2 separate regions of the Homo sapiens genome follow, and region 1 is linked to region 2. Evidence: promoter capture Hi-C in 16 types of primary human blood cells and fetal thymus (Javierre and others, 2016). All regions are on one chromosome and are shown on one strand. The core of a region is centred on a gene start or on the middle of the fragment in contact, and the rest is flanking DNA. Distances in the headings are between cores, read along the strand shown.

Region 1 (6,585 bases), core at 1,394-3,893, 480 kb before region 2:
CCAGCATAGGTTCACGTCTACAACAATTGTCTGGGACTTTCTTTTGTGTCACTACAGGAGATGTGATAGGGTTTTTTAATGAGAGTGTAGATTCTGTCTCTGTTTGTTCAAAGAAGATGTACTTGACAGCCAGAAGGAGAGCTAAACTTAGGGTAATAACTTGTTCAATATCCATGCTGATCATTCTAAATAAAAGAAAGCAAATTAAAATCTTATTCAGAAATGTAAAGGACACAATCTAAACTTACATTAGCATAGAGTGTTATGATTAATATATCACAAAGTAGATTTCAATTAACTTACTTAGAGAGATAAAACTGCCAGAGGGAAACACTTGGTTCAATTCTCTTGGACACATTTTCATCCAGTCCTAATGAAACCTTAGAAGTATCTGCTGTACTGTTTTGAGGAGAAGGATCAGCTATCCAGCGACTGTGAGCATGAACAAGAACCAAGCCTAGAGACTGAAATAAAATTTTTAAAGTAATGTATCCTCTGCATATCAATAGAACTTAAATTTCTTATCCCTAGCAACTGGACAGCCAGACATTATCTCTCATAGCTTCCCCTTACCATGAAAAAAAAAAAGCCCCAAGCTTGCTATGCAACTAACTAAAGTAGTGACCCCACTGAACTACTGAAAACACCCCAAAGAACAGGCTTTCAACGAGAGATAAGGTGGGGGAACTTAAAAAGTCTGTTTAGGAGAGAGGGGCTAATAAAGACCAGGAGCCTCAAAGAAATGAACACATTAAGAAAAAAAGGAAGAAGGGGGTGCAATATCATTGAATGGGCCAAAATTGTAGAAAAAAAGAAATCTTAAAAATAATGAGATTGGAACTGAGGATACTAAAAGAAGAAGAAAACCATGTCATTACCATAATCATCTTGACCCTCTGAGTTACAGGATTCGGCTTATTTTCTTCTTCTTCTAAAACTCGGGCAAAATGGCTGAGCTGCCAAATTGGACGACCCTCGCGGCTTTCCCGAGAAAGCTACAAATTAAGTCAGTGTGACATTAGAAGGTATTGATTCTGTTTAGGTAAACTGTGTAAGCAGAAATCTTACTCTTCTACTAGTGCCATATGTAAGAATTGGTCTTACCTCTAATACCAAGGACACACAAGCTGGGAAGAAAGTCATGAACACGAAGTAGTTGGCAAGAACTGACATGCAGCCAAAGCAGCACATAATTTCAAGCTGACGTACCCCTGGTTAGAGAAAAATTAAAGATACAACTAGTAAAGTCTACGTTATTTTTTATGCTGCATATATCACAAGGATATATTTGTCTTCCTGCAGGTGGACAAAACATGAAAATATTAGTACATTAAGCTCCTTGCCACTTACTGGAAATAGAATTAGCAACTTAGAGGTGATGCCAAGCCTTAGGAAACAGCAGGAATAACAACAGAACTCTAAGTCCCTCAAGAGCAAAGCTCTTGCCTTCTCTCATGTCCCCATATCACAATGCCAGGCAGAATGGTAGTGTTTAATACACAATTGATAAAACATATGTGTTTCCAATTCCTTTTTGTCAAGCAGTAGTGCCTTATTATTAAATAAGGAGAGGACAGGCTACTCTAACAGAGCAAAACCCCAGTGACACTATTGATCTAATCCCACTTGTTAGGAGAAAAGCAATTTGCCAATTAACCAAGGATTTTTTATATAAGTAGAATATCCTGCCAGTTATGCCAGTCCTGATATAAGGTCAAAATAATATTTTTTGTGTACCAACAAACTCTAATTTCAATATAACCTCTATGATGCCTACTGAAGTTCTTATAATTTTGGTTATTTCATTGATCTGTTTGGAAAATGATATAATACAAAATGCCAACTTAAGACTAAAAATTAACAAACATATTGTACTACAACTGTTTAAGGTATCATTTGGTGATCTCAAATAGAAAACAGAATTATAGAGGCTAGAAGAGACCTTAGATGACCACCAAATCCTTCTCCCTCACTTTACAAATAAACTTGAGTATAATATAAAACATATTTCTGATGTCGCTCAAACATAACAATGCTTTGAAACACAAATTTGAATTGTCCTATAAAAACTGCTCACAAAAACTCAAAGTTTTATTTTATTACCTACATTTTAAGATATAATTTGACTGACTAGAACAAGCATATATTGTATTTTTTTAATTCCCAATGCTTTGAAACATAAATTTAAATTGTCCTATAAAAACTGCTCACAAAAACTCAAAGTTGTATTTTATTACCTAAATTTTAAGATATCATTTGACTGACTAGAACAAGCATATATTGTATTTTTTTAATTCCACGATTACCCTCAAATGTGGAAATTCAAGAGACTACAAAATCACAATAACAAAAGCATTATAAATCAAACTACATTTTAAATAGTAGCTGAATATAATCTTTTCAAACTTGAGGCCATTAAAACCATACTTGACCAATGCTTTCATGACTTGACTATCTACTATTTCTCTCTGCACAATATTCACTCATGTTGTTGCCATATGCTCTCCAGGCATTCTTCCTTACTGTGTCCCCAGATAAGTCTCTCTACACACAAAGAAACAGCACCAATCCACAGACATCCAAGAAGCTAAGACTTTCTTCTTTTTGTACTGGCTTTTTCAAAGGGTTACTTCCAAGTTAATATGTGTTAAATCTGTCCTTTTTTACCGTAACCCAAATCTCTAATTATACCATTTCTGTATAGCTGTAAATGTCTCACTGTCTTCTCCAACCACAAATCTAATCACTTCCTTTGTCTACTTCTCTGACCATATCATGACAAAACTCATCGCCCAGCTGCTTTCCACATCATTATTATTTCAATGAATAATCCCATGGTTTCATGGCCCAACTATTACTTCCTGGCGAATCCCCTTCTCATATATTCTTTTGCTTGAATAAAATCAAACAAGTACATTTTCACCTGATCAACATTTTTTCTTGAGTGTAGTGGTGGTTACAAGACTATGTCATTGTCAAAACTCATAAAATTGTACTCCCAAAAGTAAATTTTAAAGTAAGTAAATTTTTAAAATTAAAAAATATTTTATTTGCTAAATAAAATCTTTGTTGAATAAAATAAATAAATAATAATTTGCTCTCAGAAAGTTAGAAGCAATATTACATTTTTAATATACTATCTACTGAAGAGGCCTAAACTAATGACAATAATTTACCCCCTTAAAAGTTAGATAATTTACTTCTGAAAGAATGAGGCATCTCATTGAGGGCTCTAAGGTACCAGGAAATACACAGTAGTTAACCAAGTATGGTCTTTATAAGAAAGCCATAAAATATAATCCTAATGATTAGGAGACCTTCACACAGCGTAATATATTCCTTCTGGCAAATTTCCATGCCAGTCTGTAATTTTTATTCTACATAATGAAGTCCTATGTTTGATATTAATATCTAATTCTCTACTATCCAATTAAGAATGAAGAAACATGTGTTGAAGCTAATGCTGGGTACTTGCTGAGATGTACTGCTTACTATCGGATTAAATATTTCCAATCACCTTATTAGGTGAATCTTACTCAGATCTGTCCAATTCCTGACTCTTTTCTCCCTACATGATAATTAAAACACAAAGAACCAAGTCACCAATTGAGTCTAAGTAACAGCAGGGGCTGGAAAGTGTTTTCCAGACCAACCTTGGAATGCAATGTTGGTTAAAAAAACAAACAAAAGAAATCAAATGAATAAAAATATCACAAAGTGGAACACAAAGAGAGGATGGCAGGAGTGAAAAATAAATCAGTAACCTGCTGCTAAGTTTCCACCAAAGCAAACAGGCCAGATATACCCACACACTAATATAATAAAAAATTTTAAGAGTAATTTAAAAGTCAGAATTTAACAATAAATAATACAAATCCAAGATGTTCTTTTTCCTCTTTAGCGACATACCTATTTTAAAATATGGCAAAAATTGCTTACAAACCTGACATGGTACCAACTCCAATCACAAGACATTCAACAAGAGCATCGAGGGTAAACGTAGGACCTAAAATTGCCATTCCACGAGCAATATTTTCCCTTACTTCATCCTAAAACAGATCAAACATATCAATGAAGGCAAGGGACAGAACAACTTTTTTAAATGTTAGAGCATCCTATGGCTTATATTAATATCAAATTACTATTCAAAGAGTAAAATATACAATATGATAAAACTAACAGGTATTCAAGATACAAAGTATGATTGTAATATAAAGGATTTTAAAAAATTTTTTTTTGAGATGTAGTCTCACTTTGTTTCCCAGGCTGGAGTGCAATGTGCAATGGTGTGATCTTGGTTCACTGCAACCTCTGCCTCCTGGGTTCAAGCAATTCTCCTGCCTCAGCCTCCCGAGTAGCTGGGATTACAGGCACCCGCCACCATGCCCAGCTAATTTTTGTATTTTTAGTAGAGACTGGGTTTCACCAGGTTGGCCAGGCTGGTCTGGAGCTCCTGACCTCAGGTGATCTGCCCACCTCGGCCTCCCGAAGTGCTGGAATTACAGGTGTGAGCCACTGCGCCCAGCCAAATTTTTAAAAAAGAACATATAGTGCCCTGATTCCCTTTCCACTGAATAAGATATTTGTTAGGAATATTCCTTTGAGGTAGTGCATTAACTCTGTCATTTAAATCACACATAATTAAATCCTACAACATTCTATATTTTTACCTACCATGACAGAAGCTTAGTTGCAAATTTTATGAGATCATATTAGTATTAATAAAACCAAACTTATTTCCTTGTTAATATGTTCAAATGATCACACACTTTCATCAACAAATAATCAGGGCAGAATTGTGTGCTATTTTATACTCAAGATACTCTGATATAATATTGTTAAAATGGTTAGGTTCTTCAAAGTGACTAATGAACATTAAGATGAAACTTAAAATAGGAAATAATGCCAGTGTTAATTTAAGGGGTTTAAAAATAAATCTGGCCAGGTGCAGTGGCTCACACCTATAATCCCACCACTTTGGGAGGCTGAGGCGGGTGGATCACTTGAGGTCAGAAATTAAAGACCAGTCTGGCCAACATGGCAAAACTCCGTCTCTACTGAAAACACAAAAATTAGCCGGGGATGGTGGTGCACATGTGTAATCCCAGCTACTCAGGTGGCTGAGGCAGAAGAATCCCTCGAAACCAGGAGGCGAAGGTTGTGGTGAGCCAAGATCTCGCCACTGCACTCCAGCCTGGGTGACAGAGTGAGACTACATCTCAAATCAATCAATCAATCAATCTACCCTGGGTTTCTCTTCCATTAGATCTTGTTCTGCTCTCTGATGTGTTTCACTAGGAAAATACTCTTATTTACCCAAAAATTATTATTACCATAAGTTCTGAAAACTTTCAAAAAGAAAAATGGGGGCAATTCCAAATTCCAGTAGCTACAGAATCATAATTGAGTTGTTAGATACAGGGGACTGTTCCTGGGGCACTTATGGAGACCAGTCTTGGGACTTGAGAATTAAACTTAAAACTTTGGGCAATTCTTAAATCTTGTGCTATGAAGAAACGCTATTAATCCTTCCTATTAATGTAAACTGAAAAAAGGAATACTATTCACATTCCTATCTTATAAATAATACTTACCTGTGAGTTGGAACTGAGGGCAAACTTTGCTAATGTGCTTGCTCTGGAAAGGTCAATCAAAAGTAGGAAAAAGGGCAAAGCTTCACTGGAAAAGAACAAAATGATCAGATAAATTTAACGGGAAAAAGTATGATTTTAAAAAAATTCTTTTTAGAACAAAACCTTTCCCCCTCCATACTGTATGATCCTGTAGTATGTGTACCTTTCTGCAGACAAAAAAGTATACCCTATATTTCTTTGGCATCCTCAAAGCTAAACATAGTAGTTGCTCAAAATATTTGTTAAAAATATTTTTAATGTTAAAATGTAAGTATATTTACATTTAAACACCTTTTGATAATTTTGTATCAAAGTATCATCCTTAGTAAAAAATATCTCCTTGGATTACCATTAGGGAAAAAAAGTGGAATATATAAAAATTTTCATTGATCACTACCTGTGGAAGGATAAACTAAACAAACTTTCTGTAAACTAAATTGGCAATAATAGCACTAAAAAGCTCTTAAAAAAAAAAAAGCAAAGCTCTAAAAAAAGCAAAACCACTGTCTCACTTCTAGGAATGTATCTTAAGAAAATGATTACAAATATGAACAAAAATTTCGTTACAAAGACATTCATCACAGTGTTGTTATTAATAAAAAAAATTACATAACCTAACAGTCCAACATTAGATGATTAATAAACTACAAGACGTTTAGACAGAAGAGAATACATATAGCCATTACAAACAATTTAGTTTAACATTAAGGACATGGAGGCCGGGCACAGTGGCTCACGCCTATAATCCCAGCACTTTGGGAGGCCAAGGCAGGCGGATCACTTGAGGTCAGGAGTTTGACACCAGCCTGACCAACATGGCGAAACACAGTCTCTACCAAAAATACACAAATTAAATGGGCATGGTGGCAGGTGCCTGTAATCCCAGCTACTCAGGAGGCTGAGGCAGGAGAACTGCTTGAACCCGGGAAGTGGAGGTTGCAGTGAGCCAGGA
Region 2 (7,287 bases), core at 4,405-6,904:
TGCCATTGCATTCCAGCCTGGGCAACAAGAGTGAAACGCTGTCTCAAAAAAAAAAAAAAAAAAAGAATCCCTCTCTACATCCTGATTCTTCTACTTGTTCTAACTAAAAATGCAAAATTTAATTATACTTTTCTGTGTATTTGTTTTTCTTTTTCAAATTTTATTTTAGATTCAGAGGGTATATGTGCAGGTTCATTACATGGGTAAATTGCATGATACTGAAGTATGGGGTACAAATGATTCTGTCACTCAGGTACTGAGTATTGTACCCAATAGTTAGTTTTTCAACCCTTGCTCCCTCTCTCTCTCCCCCCACAAGTCCCCAGTTTCTATTATTGCCATTTTTATGTCCATGAGTATCTAATGGTTAGCTTCCACTTGTAAGTGAGAATATGTGGTATTTTGTTTTCTTTTTTTCTTTTTTTTTGAGACTGAGTCTTGCTCTGTCGCCCAGGCTGGAGTGCAGTGGTGCAGTCTTGGCTCACTGCAACCTCCGCCTCCCAGGTTCAAGCAATTCTCCTCCCTCAGCCTCCCAAGGAGCTGGGATTACAGGTGCCTGCCACCACGCCCAGTTAATTTTTGTATTTTTAGTAGAGACAGGGTTTCAACATATTGGCCAGGCTGGTCTCGAACTCCTGACCTCGAATGATCCGCCTGCCTCAGCCTCTCAAAGTACTGGGATTACAGGCATGAGCCACCATGGCCGGCCAAAGGATGGTAAATATATATGGTATAGTAAACATACTCTAGAAGTATTCTTTTTTTCTAGCTATATGAAAGTGACAGTGTTTAACTTTGAGAATTAGTTAGGATTGTTGGTAAGTAACAGAGAAGACTGGAGGTGAGCAGCCTGGAATTGGTGTAGCAGCCATATAACATCACCATTGTCCCAGGTTCCCGTCTCTTGGCTCTAGCATGTTAATACATGGATTTCATTCTCATGATCAGCTCATGGTTCCAAGATGGCTGCTCTGCTCCCAGACCTAAGTCTTCCTTCCAAACAGGAAGAAGGAAGAAGTACAAATGTTTGACAAAAGATAAAGGTATATGCCGATTGAGTCCACCCTCTTTTATCAGAAAATAAAAGCTTTCTTGGAAGACACATCTAATAATCTTCTGCTTACAACTCGTTGGCCAAAATGACCATATGGCTATCCCAGCTACTAGAGGAGTCTGAGGGAGGAAAACAGTTTTAGTGGGGCACATTGCCACCATGAACAAAATTGGGTTTGTCCTAAAGAAAGAAGAGAATGGATATTAATTAAGCAACTTGCAGTACCTACCATGGATGTAAATATGTATGTGATTTTTCATTAACAATATGAAAAACTGTACATTTTATTTCTTTTAAACCTAAACTAAACTTACCAAATTCTCTGTCCTTCTACCACATATTAAAGCAAATCAAGCAGCAAGACAAATGCAACTGGGCTTCTCAAACTTATTTCTCTTTTCTTCAGGTTCTTTTCTCCCCCCAGGGCACAGTATCACTCAGGAATTTGAAATCTGCAGTTATAGTAGTGTTTGACCAATAAAACTCAGTCAAAACACTGCTTTTAATTCTGAAAGCATTCCTGTGACATGTTTTCTTACATACCAAAGGAAGAAATCAAGCATTCTAGGATAGCTGTCCTTTTTCGTCTTTTAGTGCCTGCAGGTAAGATTGTCTTTCTACATTGCCATGGCTGATATTATTAGCTAACTAGTTAGCTGACTGGCTAATAGTTTCAATCTAGAAATCCCTGGGCTACCTCAGTTATTAAAATGTTCTCCTGTGGCTCACGCTTGTAATCCCAGCACTTTGGGAGGCCAAGGCGGGTGGATCACAAGGTCAGGAGTTCGAGACCAGCCTGACCAACATGGTGAAACACCATCTCTACTAAAAATACAAAAAATTAACCGGGCATAGTGGTGCGTGCCTGCAATCCCAGCTACTCAGGAGGCTGAGGCAGGAGAATTGCTTGAACCTAAGAGGCGGAGATTGCAGTGAGCAGAGATCACACCACTGCACTCTAGCCTGGGCGTCACAGTGAGACTCAGTCTCAAAAAAAAAAAAATCCCTGTGATTTTATGTATTTAAAACATATGATGGATTCTAAATCTACCCATTTATGCCGAGACCAGCTCAGCTGGGGAGACCCTGGCCCAGGGGCGCTAGAGGAATTAAAGACACACACAGAAATACAGAGGTGTGGAGTGGTAAATCAGGGGTCTTACAGCCTTCAGAGCTGAGAGCCTCAAACAGAGATTTACCCACATATTTATTGACAGCAAGCCAGTGATAAGCATTGTTTCTATAGATTATAGATTAACTAAAAGTATTCCTTACAGGAAACAAGGGATGGGCTGAAATAAAGGGATGGGCTCTGGCTAGTTATCTGTAGCAGGGGCATGTCCAGGCACAGGTCGCTCATGCTATCGTTTGTGGTTTAAGAACGCCTTTAAGCGGTTTTCCGCCCTGGGTGGGCCAGGTGTTCCTTGCCCTCATTCTGGTAAACCCACAACCTTCCAGCGTGGGCGTCACGGCCATCACGAACATGTCACAGTGGTGCAAAGATTTTGTTTATGGCCAGTTTTGGGGCCAGTTGATGGCGAGATTTTGGGGGGGCCTGTTCCCAACATATTTATGTCTTATTGGAGTGTCAAAGATGATGATAAATCTTTCTAAGGAAATGTGTCTTTTCCACGCGCTAAATAAACAGAATGAAAACTTGTAATTATGCCCTGGAACTGGGGGACGGGACTTGGAGAGCAATTACACTTAAATGATGTAAAAATGAAAAATGTGTTTTTCAAAAACTAACAGATTATAAAATTTTGCTTAGTATATACCAGAGGAAGTTTTTACAAGTTTTCTTTCTAACTTGTAAACTTGTAACTAGTTTTAATTCTTCCTTCCTGTCTGGGAAAATACTAGATCTAAGAAATTATTTAAACTTGAAAGTATAGGACATTTAGTATGTTTTAGGGCTTCAAAAGCAAAATCTATCCATATGGTATAGGATTTTGTGCACATTTAAGGCAGTATGGAATTCTGGTTAAGGGAGTGTGCTCTTGAGCCAACATGCTAGGATTACTATCTGTGTGACCATGGGCAAATTGCTTAGTTTCTCTGTGTGCCTCAAGACTCCTCTTAGGTAAACTGGGGGTAACAGTGTATACCTGCAAGGATGGTAAGAGGATTAAGTGAATTAATTTCCATAAAGAAGTCTGTAGAGTGCCTGGCAATTTGTTAGCTGTCAAAAACATCAGTTATGATTTTAGCTATTAAGAATTCCTCTTCCCCAGTGCAACTAAAGAGCTCTTTTCTGGGTCATGTGTATTAGTAACCTCCAAAATCCAGGGTTGTGGCAAGCTTCTTTTACTTAAGATGGTTCCACTCCTCTTTAAACATAGAGGAAAAATACAATCAGAACGAACTCTTAACATGTTTCCTTTGCTAATAACAAAGTAATAATTAAAGCAAGCATTGCAAAAACAAAAACCAAAGCAATAATCCTTTTACTCTAAAAACGGTTCAGAAAAAAGCCTCAAAGCATATTTCAAAATATTGTGGTAACAATTTTCAGCATATACTAATCTGACAAAGGCTCATGTTTTTAGTTGTTGTTCTTTGCCCACTAAGATAAGCAAAATTTATCTCAGCCAAAGAGGGAAGTCAATGGTGATTTAAAAAGAAAAAACCAAAAACTCTCAAAAATAGTGTCATTTGCAAGTAGGGAAAAGAGAATCAGGCCTGGCGCAGTGGCTCACGCCTGTAATCCCAGCACTTTGGGAGGCCGAGGCGGGCGGATCGCTTGAGCTCAGAAGTTCAGGACCAGCCTGGGCAGCATGGCGAAACTCCGTCTCTACAAAAATTAGCGAGGTGCGTTGGTGTGCACCTCTGTCCCAGCTCTTCCGGAGGCTGACGCCGGAGAATCGCTTGAGCTTGGGAGGCAGAGGTTGCAGTGAGTCGAGATCGCGCCATTGCATTCCAGCCTGCCTAGGCTGTGGGAGTGAAACCCTGTCTCAAAAAAAAAAAAAAAAAAAAAAAAAAAAATTGGACCTTTTCTTTTATAGGTCTGGGTGAATGTAGTTCTGTCTCCTACCAGAATAGCCAGACATCTGGGAGCCAGGCCTCCCTGACCCAGGCACAAATACCCGCATACTTCTAAAACAATAGCTAAGAGTCAATCACACCCAGGCATTTCAAATATTATCAACAAGTTGTATTGGTTAGCTTTACACTAAGGCCTGAGGCTTCAACATCTGTAGGGCATAGTCTGGTAGCCAAAGCTTCCCCAAATGGCAATTGTTTGGGATTACCCTGGGGACTCCTACTTACACATAGCTCTAGAAATGTAAATACAAGTCATATAATTTCATTCATCACTGGCTATGGGTAGAACCCAACTACCCAAAATTCCTGCTCTATTAAATCTAATTCATTAAGTTTCATTAAAATGGTAAATGATGTGTAATAGTAAAGATTTTGGCTAATTAAATATTATACAAATGAAACAATAGATTCTTATATGGCAGAAAAGCTTTTTTTAAAAATCAGGGTCAAATATATCTATATCAACAAGCATTCTTTGAAGTATTTTTTGATCTTGCTAATTTTGCTAATCATTAGTAAATTCGTGAAAGTTGGTATTGTGATTGCTAAATATTTCCCAGGAATGAAAGAAGCAATTTTCAACTTTTCTGGATGAGCTGAACATAATACTACGGTTCTTGGATGATGAGTAAAAGAAAGTCTTGACATTAATACTTAGATACAATATTGTTTCTCAATACAGTTATTAAATATATTTAGACTACAATACGCATTACCTTAAAGACAATTTATCATGTTTTAAATGCTGGAGGGCTAATTTTCAGTAGGAGTGTGTAATTAGCAAAGGCGCCAGAGGCCATAAGACGGTAGAATAGAGCTGGGAGAGGCACGGGAGGAAAGCCGGATGGAACCCTGTTGTCTTTCTGGGTCAGGGTTATTCTGTACCGGTTAAACGGTGAAAGAGAAAAGGTCAGCGCAGGAATGTGGTATTTCCCTGACATCTCCAGATGAAAGTCCGGGCTCTAGGACTTCTGTAGACTGTGAAAGCAGCCCACGATTCTAACTTGCATGCACCTAAGTGGCAGTAGGTTTAGGATGAAAGTGGTGGGGCGGAGGCCGGCGGTCCTCGCCCGTGCCCTCTGCACCCCTGTCCCGAGGCCGGGATGGCCGCGCCCACTCTGGGTAAATTTCAGGAGGGCCTACGCGGGGCTGGAGAACTCCACCGGGCTATGCGAACAGAATCCTGCGAAGGTCGGCATTAAAGGAATACGCAAAATCAGCGTTGCAGCCCCCGCGGCTTAACCGCATCTATTTTTATATCTAAGCCAAGGTCACTCTTTAATACCAGGCCATTGCCCTGAGCTGGGCGTCGCGCTGCCGGGTGACGGCGGCCGGGGCGGAGAGAGGGGGCGCGGGTGGCGAGGCGGGGGCCGCGTGACGCCCCCGGGCTGGCCAAGCCCGCACCTGCCGGGCCGGCGCCTGAAAGCCGGGGCTGGAGGGAGGCAGGGCGGCGTCCCAGGCTCCGAGGAGGGGCCGCTCCGCGCTGGCGGGCGGGGGGATTCGCGGTGGGCGCGGGCGCGGAGCGGAAGCGAAGGCTGGAGGCGCTGCGGCGCTAGTGCGTCACGTCGTCGGAGGGCACGGTGGGCCGCGGCCGACCCGCGACGAGGAGCCGGGCGTCCGGGGCGAGCGGGAGGCAGCCGCACTCGCCCTGGCAGCCGCGAGCTGTGCGGCCTGGGACCGGCCGGAGGTCGCCAGCGAGCAGCCGCCGGCTCCATTCATTCGCGCGGCTCCGCCTCCTTTCCCGGGCTCTTCCAGCGGCTCCCGGGGCGCGTCTGAGGTGAGTGCGCTCCCTCTCCCCGGCGCGGACCGCTGGGTGAGGCCGAGACGGCCGCGCCGGGCCCCGCGCCCCCGCCAGCACCAGACCCGCGGACACCGAGCGGCGACGCGGGCCACCGGCTGTGGGCGGCCCCTGCGGGCTGGGCCTGGCGCAGACCAGTGCGGGCCGCCTGGACCCGGGGCTCGCGTCCAGCTGGCGGCGGTCTGCGGGGATCCCGTAGGGCGTGTGGCGCCCCCAGGTGCGCCGGCCTCCGCCTCGGCGCCACCATTTTGTGTGAGGGAATGCCCGTCTTCGCTCGCCTCCGCCGCGGGCCGGTTCGCAGCTGCGGCTTGCCGCCCCCTCCCCTCGCCCTCTCCCCACCTGGATGCTTGGCGTGCGAGCTGATTGCTTTGGCTTGGGGAGACGCGGACTCGGGGAGGTGTGGAACTTCAGCGTTTAGACTCGGTTCACCCGACCAGGTGGCCTCCAGAGATGCTCTGACCGCCTTCCTTTACCTGTAACTACTTTTGGAACAGATATTGTATGATTCTCCCTCCTCTGGAATGCTGGTCGTTGCAGTTTTGTCCTAATTGTGTTCTCAGCTCTCCATTATGCCATTTTTCAAGAGGCCTGTGCCTCAGGAGGTGAAGCCTTGAACCCTGGGTGGTTTATGGCTCGGGGGTCTGGATTACACTGACTCCCATGACTGTCCTTGGGGAGAAAGGATGAAGCATCTCACTGGCTTTTCAGCGTCTGGGAAGCGGCGTGGGTATCGTATCGGGTGGATTCGAAGATAACCACCTGATGCAGGTCACCTTCCCCCGCTGGGAGAGCCGTTCCTAACGTAAATTAAAACGTGTGTACGGGTTTTTGGGGGATTGGGACCGGAGGGACATATTTCTAAAAAATTTCCAGAAGGGAAAGTTTTCATTGTGATTCTCACAGAACTGTGACACAATTTGTCATTTTCAAGGTTCCTGAGAATTTGGGAATTCTTTTAATTCGTTGGCTTCTTGCGAATTACTACTTACGAACTGAGCAGATTATACCCAAGCCATTTATATTTTGTCATTGCATCACAGACAGGGATTACAATCGGGAGTGCTGGCTGTTGCATAATGCACACATTTGGGCCCTGGAGGGAATTCACCGAAGTGGATCTGGGTTTGGTGTGCCATGCGTTTTTATTTTTTACACAGGATGTACAGATGATCTTTGCAAACTACGTCCCTTATCGTGCTATAAAGTGTTTACAAGAGGAAAGATTTTTATTGACTAGTATGGACCAGACTAAAATTTTTAGTGTTTTAGTTTTGCTTGTTTTGGAGGAAAGGCAAGGAATGAGATGGTGAGAGGCACCTGGGAAAAGTCCGTTTATCCTAACACTTGAAGCGCAAACAAAGATAAAACATGATCGTCTTTCACAGAAATC

Evidence for each region. The method cuts DNA at HindIII sites, captures the fragments that hold promoters and counts their contacts. A CHiCAGO score of 5 or more calls a contact.
Region 1: a contact is called between a fragment that was not itself captured here and the fragment with the promoter of FAM169A in region 2, in 1 of 17 cell types (naive CD8 T cells). The highest score is 6.2, in naive CD8 T cells.

What each region holds. Positions count from the first base shown.
Region 1 is chr5:75,344,668-75,351,252 of GRCh38, reverse strand. It overlaps HMGCR (3-hydroxy-3-methylglutaryl-CoA reductase), which reads right to left. Exons shown (of 20, transcript NM_000859.3): 5 at 5,595-5,679; 6 at 3,944-4,049; 7 at 1,105-1,211; 8 at 879-995; 9 at 304-464; 10 at 1-185. Among named protein-coding and RNA genes, the nearest start is that of HMGCR, 11 kb to the right of the region's middle. The HindIII fragment of the contact is 4,089 bases long and covers 599-4,687 here.
Region 2 is chr5:74,864,754-74,872,040 of GRCh38, reverse strand. FAM169A (family with sequence similarity 169 member A) reads left to right here and starts at 5,654. Exons shown (of 13, transcript NM_001376049.1): 1 at 5,654-5,876. It overlaps FAM169A-AS1 (FAM169A antisense RNA 1), which reads right to left and starts at 6,148. Exons shown (of 1, transcript NR_134288.1): 1 at 4,766-6,148. RefSeq lists silencers at 5,718-5,967, 6,038-6,207. The HindIII fragment of the contact is 5,081 bases long and covers 4,529-7,287 here.